Regions from separate parts of the Homo sapiens genome. Here region 1 is linked to region 2. The links are contacts of gene promoters, found by promoter capture Hi-C in blood cells and fetal thymus (Javierre and others, 2016). All regions are on one chromosome and are shown on one strand. The core of a region is centred on a gene start or on the middle of the fragment in contact, and the rest is flanking DNA. Distances in the headings are between cores, read along the strand shown. Region 1 overlaps FAP (fibroblast activation protein alpha). Region 2 holds the start of PSMD14-DT (PSMD14 divergent transcript).

Region 1 (6,228 bases), core at 3,642-6,141, 930 kb after region 2:
GAATCTTGCAGATTCCCTTCAATATTGGGTTTCATTCCCTTCTTCTCGTGCAGGCCGCTCTCAGAGAAAACAGCCAAGAAAAACAACCCAGGCACAAATGGCTGCAAATTGACTTGCAAATGTACAAATTCAGACCAAAAAGTGAAACAGGAAATCTTCTTTGAAGGGTAATTATCATAATTTATAATGGGCAAATCTCAACTCTTTCCAATATTTCTCTAAACTTTCCAGTGACTTCATTGCCCATAAACGATAAGTTTTGCCACTTTCTTTAAATGTGTATTTTCAAAATAGCTCCTCAAGTGTGAGAAGTTATCTCCATGACCTATAATTAGGAAACTAAATAGTACTTTTCTCCAGTTAGCACAAACGAACATTCGGTCTACTAAAATAATTTGATTGCCAAATAAAAAGAAACAAAATTAAACAGCTAAGATATGACTGCTAGGCTAGGTACTAAGGAATTTATATTCTGAAAGTCCCTGTGATTTCAAATTGTAGCTCCAATTTTTATAAAATAGAAATATAAAATAAAAGGTATATATTTAACTTTAAAATAACAAAGGCAATTCACCCTCTGACGGATATGGTTCAGTTCAGTATGCTATAATCTAGTAACAAAGACTTAAGTAAAAATATGTCAATTATGAGTTAACTTACTGTACAGGGAAGAAAAGATTGAAAAAAAGGAACAAACACTTAAAACCACCATTTTGAAGCCCAGATTATCCAAACTGACTGTTTCCATTGACAGATTAAATTATGTTGCAACATTAACATTTCATGAGAAACCTTCTAAACGAACACTTCAGAAAATGATGATTGCTGAACTGAATAACAGGCATAAAAAATATAAAACAACTCACCCAGCCCCATATGGCTATTCTTTTTTCATCAATGAAACCCATTTCTATGAATTTTCTAAAGTAAAAGAAACAAATTTTTAGAATGTTAAGTGTATACACATGACATTTACTTCATTACACAACCATATTTAATCCAAAGATTTAATAGAAACGCTACATTTTCTTTGTTTAAACACATGCATAATAAGCCTGCATTTACAAATAATTAAAATAATATTATCATGTTTTCTGCAAAGAGATAAAAGGATTCCCTTAGACTCTGTTGTACAGTTATTGACTGGTAATGTCAGAGCGGTATAAGGCCTTGTAGTCTAATCGTGGGGGTGTACCTGAGACTCAGAGAGGCCAAAAGATGGGTTCATAGTGACACAAGAAGTAGCAGCAGCATTGAGCAGGACCAAGTTTCCAAATCCCCAGCTATCGGAAAGAAGGATTTTGTTCTTGCTGCTTTAAATTATATTAATTTCTTATCACATTGTTGTTAATGATAATCATCACTTCATTTTCAGAGACATTTGAGAGAAATATACAACCGTCTTCCATTTCATACTTAGGCATCCTCAATTCATCATTAATTAATATGGAAATAATTCCTTTTTAGCTCCATCACAGAAGAGCATCCATTTGAAAACTATTTTGAAAATAAATCTTTCCTTAGGAGCAAGGGGCTACACTGAAGGACAACGTTTAAAAAGTCATGGGAAACCCTCAAAATTGAGGGTTTCAAGCTAATTTCTAACATGTTACCCTGAGGGCTGGTGTTCTAGAGCAATTGTGATTTATCTGGGGATTGGTTTGATAAAAACTCAAGAAAATCTCAGAGAAACAGCAGCCGGAGTGGAATGTGGCAAACTGGATCAGCCATTGCAGAAACCACCGTATGCAACAGTGACAGGAAGGAGGGGAGAAGACCAAAGGAGACACACAGTCCCAGAAAAATACTATCTTCTTGTTCCATTCAATTACTGTTAAAGACCTTTCTCATCAGTTCTTCTCTGGAAGTAGAACTGAGTGATTTTCATTACTTGAATAATGTAGTTTCTTAAAGGGATTTCACAGCAACCATTTCGCTCTTGCATTGATTCAACATGCACGTTTCCGATGCATAGAGAAGTTGGGCAAATGCCCGGGACAAACAGATGGGAAGAGGCCCCGTTAGTCACAGCTTACCCGACACTGATTCTGAAGGACACTGAGGAGTCTACAGAGAAGAAATGCAGTAGCAAATGGAAAGTTGCTACCTGTGTGGATGCTGCTCATGGTATAGAGGAGAAAATGTGCAGCAAATTGTGACACTTGAGCAATTCTTGCACAAACTTCAAAAATCAAATGAAAGAAGAGAAGGTTCACTTTCTTGTTAAAAAAAAAATAACCTTGCTACTGGTGCTTGAAGACAGTTCTGAGCCATAAAATCAATTGTGATTTTATGATCTCCCAGAAGCCAACAATCATACTACCTTACATCTGGGGTAAAGAGCAAATAACAGGTGATACATGGGAACAGGAAACTCTTAACAGCTCTCTTCCTAGGTTTATTCTGAAAGGATGACATTTACAGGAAATGATAGTGCAATAGTTAACATGGAAATGAAACATTAACACTGAATGTTGCAGGACTAGGTTAAAGGTTAGCTAGATAATCTTAGCACTTCCAGACCAACGAGGCACTATAAAATTCACCTTCAAATTCTGAAGAGTTTCCCAGAGGGTTGTAAATACTGTTGATAATGTGGTTATATCAACAAAATGTCAGTAACAAATGAAAAGGATGTTTTTCTAATCTTGGAGTCTGGATTGAACTTTATAACTTTTCTCTCATAAAGTTGGCCCAAGGCCAAGGTAAACTTGGAATCATAGCGATCAATTATTATCCTATTTTAGAAATATTCTTATTCATGCCATCTATAAAAGCATGATAGAAAATTTCATCTCATGTAATTCTTCCCCACCACTAACCCTCAAGTTATATCAAATTTTAAAGTTGTGGGAATATCAAAAGTGCCAAATATACTCCAAATGAGCAAAGTTGCCCTTATAACCACCAAAGTTTTAAGGGTCTCACATATGTACCATTTGAAGAGACACCTAAAGAAAGCGGGTTCCAGTCTCCCTTATGTCTGTAGCTTCACAAACATCTCTTCTGACGCATTTTCTTTCACATAGATAGAAGTTATAAGACGATATGACTTCTTTTTTTCCCCTACTTTGCTTTGTTTAAATCTATTTGTTGGCCTTGAGTAGTATTTACTGTTGTTTCCAAATATGTACGTACGATTTTCTTTTGGTATGTCAAAAGCTTAGCCAGATTGCATTTTGTAAAAGATTCAGGGGAGAAATTTTATTCTCTGAGAGGCAATTTAAGGGCTACAGTAGAAGTATTATAATCTCAATTCCCCAGGTCAGGCATTTAGTGTCTGATTCCTAAAACACTTCCTTAGGAGGTATATTGAATCATCCCTAGGATTATTATTCTGAGTCTATCCTATTTAGCTTTTGTTTTCTCAAAGCATTGGATTATAAGGCTTCCTTTTCACAGTTGCATAAGAACAATTTCAAGCAAAAACCAAGGCCAGCTCTGGCTGTCATCTCCACTGTTGTTTATAGACTTTGCATGGGGCCACGCAGCTGCCCATATTCTCTGGGGTGTTTACTAAAAGTTTGATCTAACAACAATTTTGTCCCTTCAGAGTGTAGGTGGCTTATTTACTTTTACCAGATTGCAAGCACACTGAAAACAGAAATTGCAAATTGCACAATTTTATACAGAGTGTACTGCAATGGCATGTATTAATATTAATATTTGCTATGTTGTTGAATGGCTGAGTATATGGGTGAACATATGTTTTCCCTATAGCAGGAAGACTTTCTTCAGATTCCATCCTAAAAATGGCTCAGAGAAAGTAGAGGTATCCAATTACCACCTCTAGTCCATCTTCAATTCTAAATGCCAAAGACAAATTGGTATTACTGCGAAAATCAGTAGAAGGTAGAATTTATGGCTTTGTGTCCTGTATGTTGAATATCATGGCTCAGGTTTAAATTTTCATTTCATCCAAGGAAAATATTAAGAAGCTATTTCTTCTTAGGTTCAAATGGTGCATCTGTGGTGGTAAATAAACCCATAAAAGTATAATGACATATTTTGTTGTTACTGGTGGGTTGCGATGATGACGATGATGAAGACAATGATTTTTTAACCAATGCCAAAATAAACAACTTTTTAGCTCTTTCAGCTTTGGAAAAGATCTAAATAAATTATAAATGAGGCATAATTTTCATCTCTGTTTTCATGTAGTCCCAGGATTACATGTCCTTGATGTTTATTGCATGGTTTAAATGCAAATAGATGTGAGCCATGGTGCTAAAAAAAGTCCCCCATGGAATTAAGCTATAATTCTGAGGATGGCGTTAATATTCTCATTAAGGCACACTACAGTCTTTATAGGAGAAACTGATGTCTCAGTGGGGTTTTTCTTTGAACTATCTCCTCCAAACAAGTGAATAGTTGAAAGGCCAAAAGTCTGAGTCCATAAGAAAGAGGGAGCTTCCAGAAATTGAGTGATAGCTACAGATTTTAGTGTTAGTAACCTACTTACTAATTTGTCGTATTGTACTCAGATAGACTTTTTTTTTAATTGAACATTTTGTTTGTTCCCAGAATGAAAGAAGCACTTGAAAATGTATGGGTTATGGACACCTTTCTATTTTTAAAAATAATTACTTGTGAGTCTAAACTCTTCTGCTTTGATTAGAGACAAAAATATAGAAAAGTGTTGTCTAGGCCTGGCTCCAGGCTGTTAAATACAATCTTTATTCTGCATGTTGCAGTGAAATCATTAAGTATTAATAACATTAAGGGGATAAAAAATGTACTAAAGAAATTTCTAAATTTCTCTTTGCCTGTGAAACAGTGTTTGACCTTTAGCTCCTCACATGCACATATATTCACGACTGAGAGTGCAATTAGCCTGCTACCTTTTAAATTTACGAACTATTATTCTTAGCTTCACCTATTCATAACATAATAATGAAACCCAACAACTATAGAGACATGGCAAGAATTATTTGCACAGTGTTTCTAAAAAAGCCACAATTTTGGTGCCTATATAGTCCTGTTTCAGGAAAAGATGATTGAACCATAAATCATGGTTGAAAATATATATAGTTGAGAAGAAGAAATCAGATTATGAATCTGTGTTTTCCCTAAATGTTTTCATAATATAATTTCTGTTGTGTAAAATGACTATGTTTTTGTCAAACGAAAATAGGCAAACACTTTCATGCTACCATGGCCGACTGATAGCTAGTTTAACCACAAATGAAGGCCTAACATCTAAAAGTATGTAGTGCTGATAAAATCTTGAGCCATTTCTAAACTTAAGAGGCAGAATCCACAATGCTTGAGCAAATTCAGATATTTGTTTTCCTGAAGATCATCATTAGAGTTCAAAGTTTTTCTATCAATTGTAAGAAATGGAACTAAATTAAAAGATATTGGAATGAATGACAACACATCAAAAGAGGGTATTTGTCATTTAGCACTTGAAATCATTTTTCTACACATTCGTTAGCTCTCTTCCATAAATACTTTTTTTTCATATTTGGCAGAAATACCTCTTTAAGATTAGTGATAGTTTTAGACCAAGTTAGAAAAAGAAAAACAAAAGAATTAAGTCATGAAGAATGGAGAAACACAATAGTGATTGCATGACTTTTGTTGCATGTTGACATCTGCTTGAATGAGAAGGTGCTCACCTGACAGCTGTAATCTGGTCTTCAACTTCATAAACACCCAGCTTTCGATACACTGCATAGAGGAGTTTGTCACCTTGGAAAGCTGTTCCTCGACCATCCACCAAGGCAATGACCATCCCTTCCTTACTTGCAAGATAAGATATCCAATTAACAGCAAATACAGACCTTACACTCTGACTGCAGGGACCACCATACCTAAAGGAAAAACAAAAAAAACAAGAATCTTTGATTGCTTTGTAAAACTCAATTTCCCATCCTGGCCAAGCATTGCTTCTAGTAATTCCAGTACAATTATGTGATAAAATAACAATGGCGTTAGAACTGGCTCAAAATCAAGAGGAGTCCAGGCTTTTCCCAGAGGTTTGCTACAAGGAAGTTGTTTTGGGACACAGCCTCTCCTATTCCCCAAAACGGATACATCTAGGGTTGGCATTTCAAGGAATATGTGTGGGTTTTTCGTCATTTCTGCCACCTGCCACTTGCTAAAAGCAGACATAAGATATACTAAAAAAAATGCATGGTGTTTTAAGCAAATTGTGTGTAGGTCAGCACTGATTTTGGGTGTGATTCCACTAAATGTATTCTATTCCTTTATTTCATTTCTAAC
Region 2 (5,811 bases), core at 47-2,546:
AAGCTGGGGTGGGTGGATCACGAGGTCAGGAGTTCGAGACCAGCCTGGCCAGCATGGTGAAACCCCGTCTCTAATAAAAAATACAAAAATTAGCCAGGCATGGTGGCACATGCCTATAGTCTCAGCTACTTAGGAGGCTGAGGCAGGAGAATCACTTGAACCCAGGAGGCGGAGGCCTGGGCGACAGAGTGAGACTCCATCTCTGAAGAAAAAAAGGAAAATCTTCCTCACAAAAGGTTAGATAAATATTCACTTTTATTATTTTTTATTGACTTCTTTATTTTTTTATTCAGACAGGATCTTGCTCTATCGCCCAGGCTGCAGTGCAGTGGGACGATCATGGCTCACTGGAGCCTCAACCTCTTGGGCTCAAGTGATCCTCCAGCCTCAGCCTTCAGAGGAGCTGGGACTACAGGCACGCATGACCACCTGCTAAAATATTCACTTTTGTTTTCTCCTACATATTTGATGATTTTTTTTTGTTTTCATTTTATGCATTTAGTGCTTTAATATGTCTGCAATTTATTTTGGTTTATCATGTGAGGAGAGGATTGGATTCTTGTTTTTCAGCTTGTCCCTGCAAGTTTATTGAATAATATAGTTTTTTCCTACTGATTTTAAGATTTTTGAATTTAGCTGAAAGGTTTTATCTTCTAGAGACCTCTCTTGAGATTAATTTCCACTCCACTGATTTCTCTATTTTTCTACCTTTATCACAATATTTAAATAATACAGTCTTATATCTAGTATTGCAAGTCCTTCAGTAGTTTTCCTTTCCAAAATTTTCTTTGTCATTCTTGACTATTCGTTCATATTATTCTGAATTACATTATTAAGTTAAAAAAAGATTCACTTAAGAACATATGTTTTGCTGTGAAAAAATACTCAAGATATATTAAGTGAAGAAAGCAAATTGTACAACAATATATATATTAGCCTTCTTAAAATTAAAAAAGTCAGAAAAAGCATAGAAGTGTGTGTGCAGGCCCATGTGTATGTGAGGCTGTTCCTTATTGATACATATAAACATTCTGGAAGATTGGCCAAAAAAAGTATTAACAATGGTTAGCTTTGGTTAATGGGAATGGACATTGTGGAGAAGAGGAAATTTTGCTCTTTACTATAAAGAAACTTCTTAGGTAGTTTGGATTTTCTACTATGAACAAGCATTAGTCATAAAATTTTGGTAAATGTCTTTGAAAAAAATATTTGAAAAAGATTATTAAAAAGCTACTTACACACAAAAGGACAAATACTGCATAATTCCACTCATCTGAGGTACCTAGAGTAGTCAGATTCATAGAGGCATCAAGTAGAATGGTGGTTGCCAGGAGCTGAGGGAAGGGGACAATGGGGGTTGTTGTTAAAGGTGTACAGGGGAGTCTCAGTTTTGCAAGATGCAAACAGTCTGGAGATGGATGGTGGTGATAGTTGCACAACAATGTGAATGTACCTAATGCTACTGAACTGTACACTTAAAAATGTTTAAAACAATATGTTTTATTTACCACAATTGTTTTTTTTGACGCAGAGTCTCGCTCTGTCACCCAGGCTGGAGTGCAGTGGCGCAATCTCGGCTCACTGCAACCTCTGCCTCCTGGGTTCAAGCGATTCTCCTGCCTCAGCCTCCTGAGTAGCTGGGATTACATGCACACGCCACCATGCCCGGCTGATTTTTTTATTTTTAGTAGAGACGGGGTTTCACCATGTTGGTCAGGCTCGTCTCTAACTCCTGACCTCGTGATCTGCCCGCCTCGACCTCCCAAAGTGCTGGGATTACAAGCGTGAGCCACCTTGCCTGGCCCTACCACAATTTTTTTAAAGCTATTTACAATGATTTACCCCTGGGGAGTTGGATTGAGGAGTTAGGATGTAGGCCAAGGACAATATTTTTCATTTAACACCTTCTGCATGGCCTGAATTTTTCAGGAGAAGCCCATATTATTTTCATAATAAAAAAATTTTAGGACTCTCTCTAGACCTATTCTGATTCAGAGGCTGCCCAATTAAAAGAAATTTAATGTCATAGCTAATTTTAAAAATTTATTGGAAATCCTACGCTGAATTACATTAAATTTATAAATGATGGGACAGCTTTAAAATATTTACTCACATAGAAAGTTTTCAAAAATTTTAATGATCCTTTGAAAATTTTGTAATTTCTTCATATGGGTCCTACACAAGTTCTGTAGTTTATTAGTGTATCCCTGGGTTTTTTATATCTGTATCTCTATCTACAGATTGATAGATATATATAATATTATATCAATTGCCTAATTGCTATTTTTTGTAAAATTAATTTGTCTCATTGAAGACTTTTTTGTAATTATTTTTTCCTCTAAATAACTGAAGGAAACTGTTGATTTTCATAATTTTCTTTACTTTAATCTTAAAAATAATCCTAAAGTAATTGGTCCATTCAAGTTGGTCAGTTCAAGTTCAAGCTAAAATTATTGGTTTGTGTAGAAATACTCTAATTTAGCCAATGTAACTGTTTTTTATTTATGTGATTTTTTTTGAATCATGTAAACATGGCTTAAGAAAATATCTATTATAAAGAATACTCTATAATATAAATGCCTGCAGAGTATAATACCTGTCACTCTCTGAAAAGGAATGCAAAGGAGTAATGAAGGAAAAATAATTATTAGTACGATAGGATTTCCATGAATAATTTATGAGAACCTAGACAAGGAGTAAACAATAGATATCACCCATTTTGAGTCCTATAGACTTTTTCCATATTTGCAGAAGATATTGCTTGTATTTTTTTCATTTCTAAAAGGAAAGTGTTTTGCTTTTATTTCTGACTATATATTATCATTGTAGAAAGCATTCAATACTATAGACAAAAAGTATTTTCTTATATGAAGATCAACCATAAACCTATCATCCAGATAAAACTACCATAAATAGTATTTTGCCTATTCATCAAGAATTAATTACATTAACATATATTTCACATATTTATAAAAGTGATCACACTGTACATACAGTTTTATAGCCTCCTTTTTTTCTCTTAATATATAATCACTGCTGTCTTTTAATGTCCATACAGATCTTCATAATTCTTAATGGCTATTGTTGAAACGTACATTTTATTTTATGGATGTTCCATAATTTATTTGATCAATCCCCTGTTGATTAACATTTAGGTAGTTTCAACTTTTTTTACTTTGAATATTGTAATACATCTTTTCACATTTGACAAGATTATTCCTTAAGAAATGTAAATGCTCAATGAGTCTGCATAATTTTAAGACTTTCGTGTTAAAATTAAATATTTTTTCTTAAAATTAAAATATGTGTTATTGCTGAACTGTCCTCCAAAAGAGGTCACAGTCATTTTGCTCTCAAGACATTTCTACATTGGTTTTTCTTCTCTCTCTCTTTTTTTTAATTTTCAAACTCCGCAAAGTCTCAGAATATATCAGGTGTTAATATAATCTTAAAAATCATTTACATTCCAATAGATGGGAAATTTTATTTTATTGTTTCTTTTAATTTCCAGAATTTGATAAGTAATGAGGTTTATCTTGTTTCCATGCGTCTATGGCCTATTATCTTATTCCTGCTGTTCTTCTGGAGTATACCTCTTATTATTATTGACTTGTAAGCACCTCTCTAGGATTACAAATATTAATTTTTTGTTTGTGATGTGTATTTTTTTAGTATGTCTTTAGTCTTTTTACCTTGTTTATGCCATTTTTGTCATACAAAGTTTTTATGTATTCCAATTAATGACTTTGGTATCACTCTTAGACATTCTTTACAAGATTAGTAAGAAAAAATTCAGTATTTTATTCTAATTATATTATCTTTATCTTTTCATATTTTTCATTTATATCTCTTACCAACTTAGAGTTTCTTTTTTTAAAGTATACATTAGAGATTTAATATTTCTTCCAAGGGCTTAGTTACTATCCCCACACCACTTTTGAGCAATCCATTATTTTCTCCACTACATTCTTGGATATGCTGTTATCTAGTTCCGGATTTTTGCCTCTATTTCGTTGACATTTTTTAGCTGTGTGATTCCGAGGTATTGTTCAGGTTTTTCTGCAATAATGCTGTGTGACAAACACTTCCCCAAATCTCAGTGGCGTACAACAAAAAATATTTATTTCTCTTTCGTGGGTATCTGGGTCAGCTGTGACACTGCAGTGTTCTTCTGGACACAAATGGACTTTGCTCCAAGCTACAGGTCAGATTTGAGTGCTACACATTTCTGTTTTTTCAGGCTGTGATAACAACAGCTCCCTGGAATAAATTCTTCTTATAATGGATGGTAAGAGTACAAGAAGGCTGGCTGAAACTTGCCACACTCTTAAACCTCAACTCCAACACATTGTTTTTTCCACGTACACTGCATTGGTCTGAAGATCACACAATCAACCCTAAGTGAATGCGAAAGGAAAATGCATTGTCTCCACGGGGAAGGCATGTCAGGGACTTAGAGAAAATGAAGAACTGTAAGCAAATAATAATATCTACCACACTGAGCTAGTTATATTTTCTAAGTCTCAGTTTCCTCAGTGTCAAATACAATAATTGTGAAGACTCAATTATATAGATGATAAGGCAGATTAGCTCCTACCCCTATCATTCTTTCTTTTAAAGGATTTTCTGACTATTCTCTACCATTTTTTCCTCCAGATGAATGGATTTTAGATTCCATCACATATGTTCATCTTTTTAATAAGTGAGGAAAATATCTTCTCAGTCATACTACTTTTAGACTGATGAGCAAGTTGTTCCAGAGCCTTACCAAGAGGAGGTTCAGGAATGACTTGGAACCTGTAATAATCAACATATTTTTTGTTTATTCAAAAAATTCAAAACTATGCTGCACCAATTTGCAAATGATATTGAATAAATTGGGGTGGTTAGTATCCTGGAAAAATAAACTAAAATTTAAATTAGGATAATGATCATATTTTTAAAATGAGGCTCAAAAGAAGCAAATGTGAGGTGTACACATAAACAATAACATATAGAATTGTGCAGGAATGTCTAGGCAAAAAGCACAGAGAAAAAAGACTTGAGGGTCTATCTAGAGTACACGAACGGTCCCCAATGCGGATGAAAAAGAGTTTTCATGATTTATGAAATATCCCAAACAGGCAGGAAACCATTTTTCCTCTGTTTCATGTATAAATTATACTTTTATATATATATATAAAAGTATATATATATATATTTTTTTATTTTTATTTTTTTGAGATGGAGTCTGGCTTTGTTGCCCAGGCTGGAGTGCAGTGCCGTGATCTCAGTGCACTGCAACCTCTGCCTCCCGGGTTCAAGTGATTCTCCTGCTTCAGCCTCCTGAGTAGCTGGGATTACAGTTGCGCACCACTATGCCCGGCTAATTTTTGTATTTTTAGTAGAGACGGGTTTTCACCATGTTGGCCAGGCTGGTATCAAACTCCTGACTTCAAGTGATCCTCCCACCTCAGCTTCCCAAAGTGCTGGGATTACAAGCGTGAGCCACCGCACCTGGCCCTAATTATACTTTCATTTGAAAATTATTTCCTGCTTTGAACCACATTTTTAAAGGATGTGTAGAAATTGATGAGAGTTCAAAGAATAAAAAAGTAGCTAAAAAGATCTAATTTAGGTCCTTGAGACAAGCTAAGGGAATTGGCATTTTTAGTCTTAAAAGGCTAAGGTACTGACTTGATTAGTATTCACTTGTAAAATTTATTTCCAGAGAAAAAATAATGAGCATTGTTCCTCTATGTCTAAATAAGAACAAAAAAATTTTCATGAAAACAATTTATGACTATAAGGAGCAATGATTGTTGTTAAGTC

What was found. Contacts are between HindIII fragments. The CHiCAGO score rates a contact against its expected background, and 5 or more counts as called.
Region 1: a contact is called between a fragment that was not itself captured here and the fragment with the promoter of PSMD14-DT in region 2, in 8 of 17 cell types (fetal thymus, M1 macrophages, naive CD8 T cells and 5 more). The highest score is 11.3, in fetal thymus.

The regions. Positions count from the first base shown.
Region 1 is chr2:162,182,548-162,188,775 of GRCh38, forward strand. FAP (fibroblast activation protein alpha) reads right to left here. Exons shown (of 26, transcript NM_004460.5): 20 at 5,622-5,816; 21 at 867-921. Among named protein-coding and RNA genes, the nearest start is that of GCG, 33 kb to the left of the region's middle. RefSeq lists an enhancer at 2,245-2,414. The HindIII fragment of the contact is 3,463 bases long and covers 3,161-6,228 here.
Region 2 is chr2:161,253,347-161,259,157 of GRCh38, forward strand. PSMD14-DT (PSMD14 divergent transcript) reads right to left here and starts at 1,297. Exons shown (of 4, transcript NR_110593.1): 1 at 1,239-1,297. The HindIII fragment of the contact is 9,629 bases long and covers 1-5,811 here.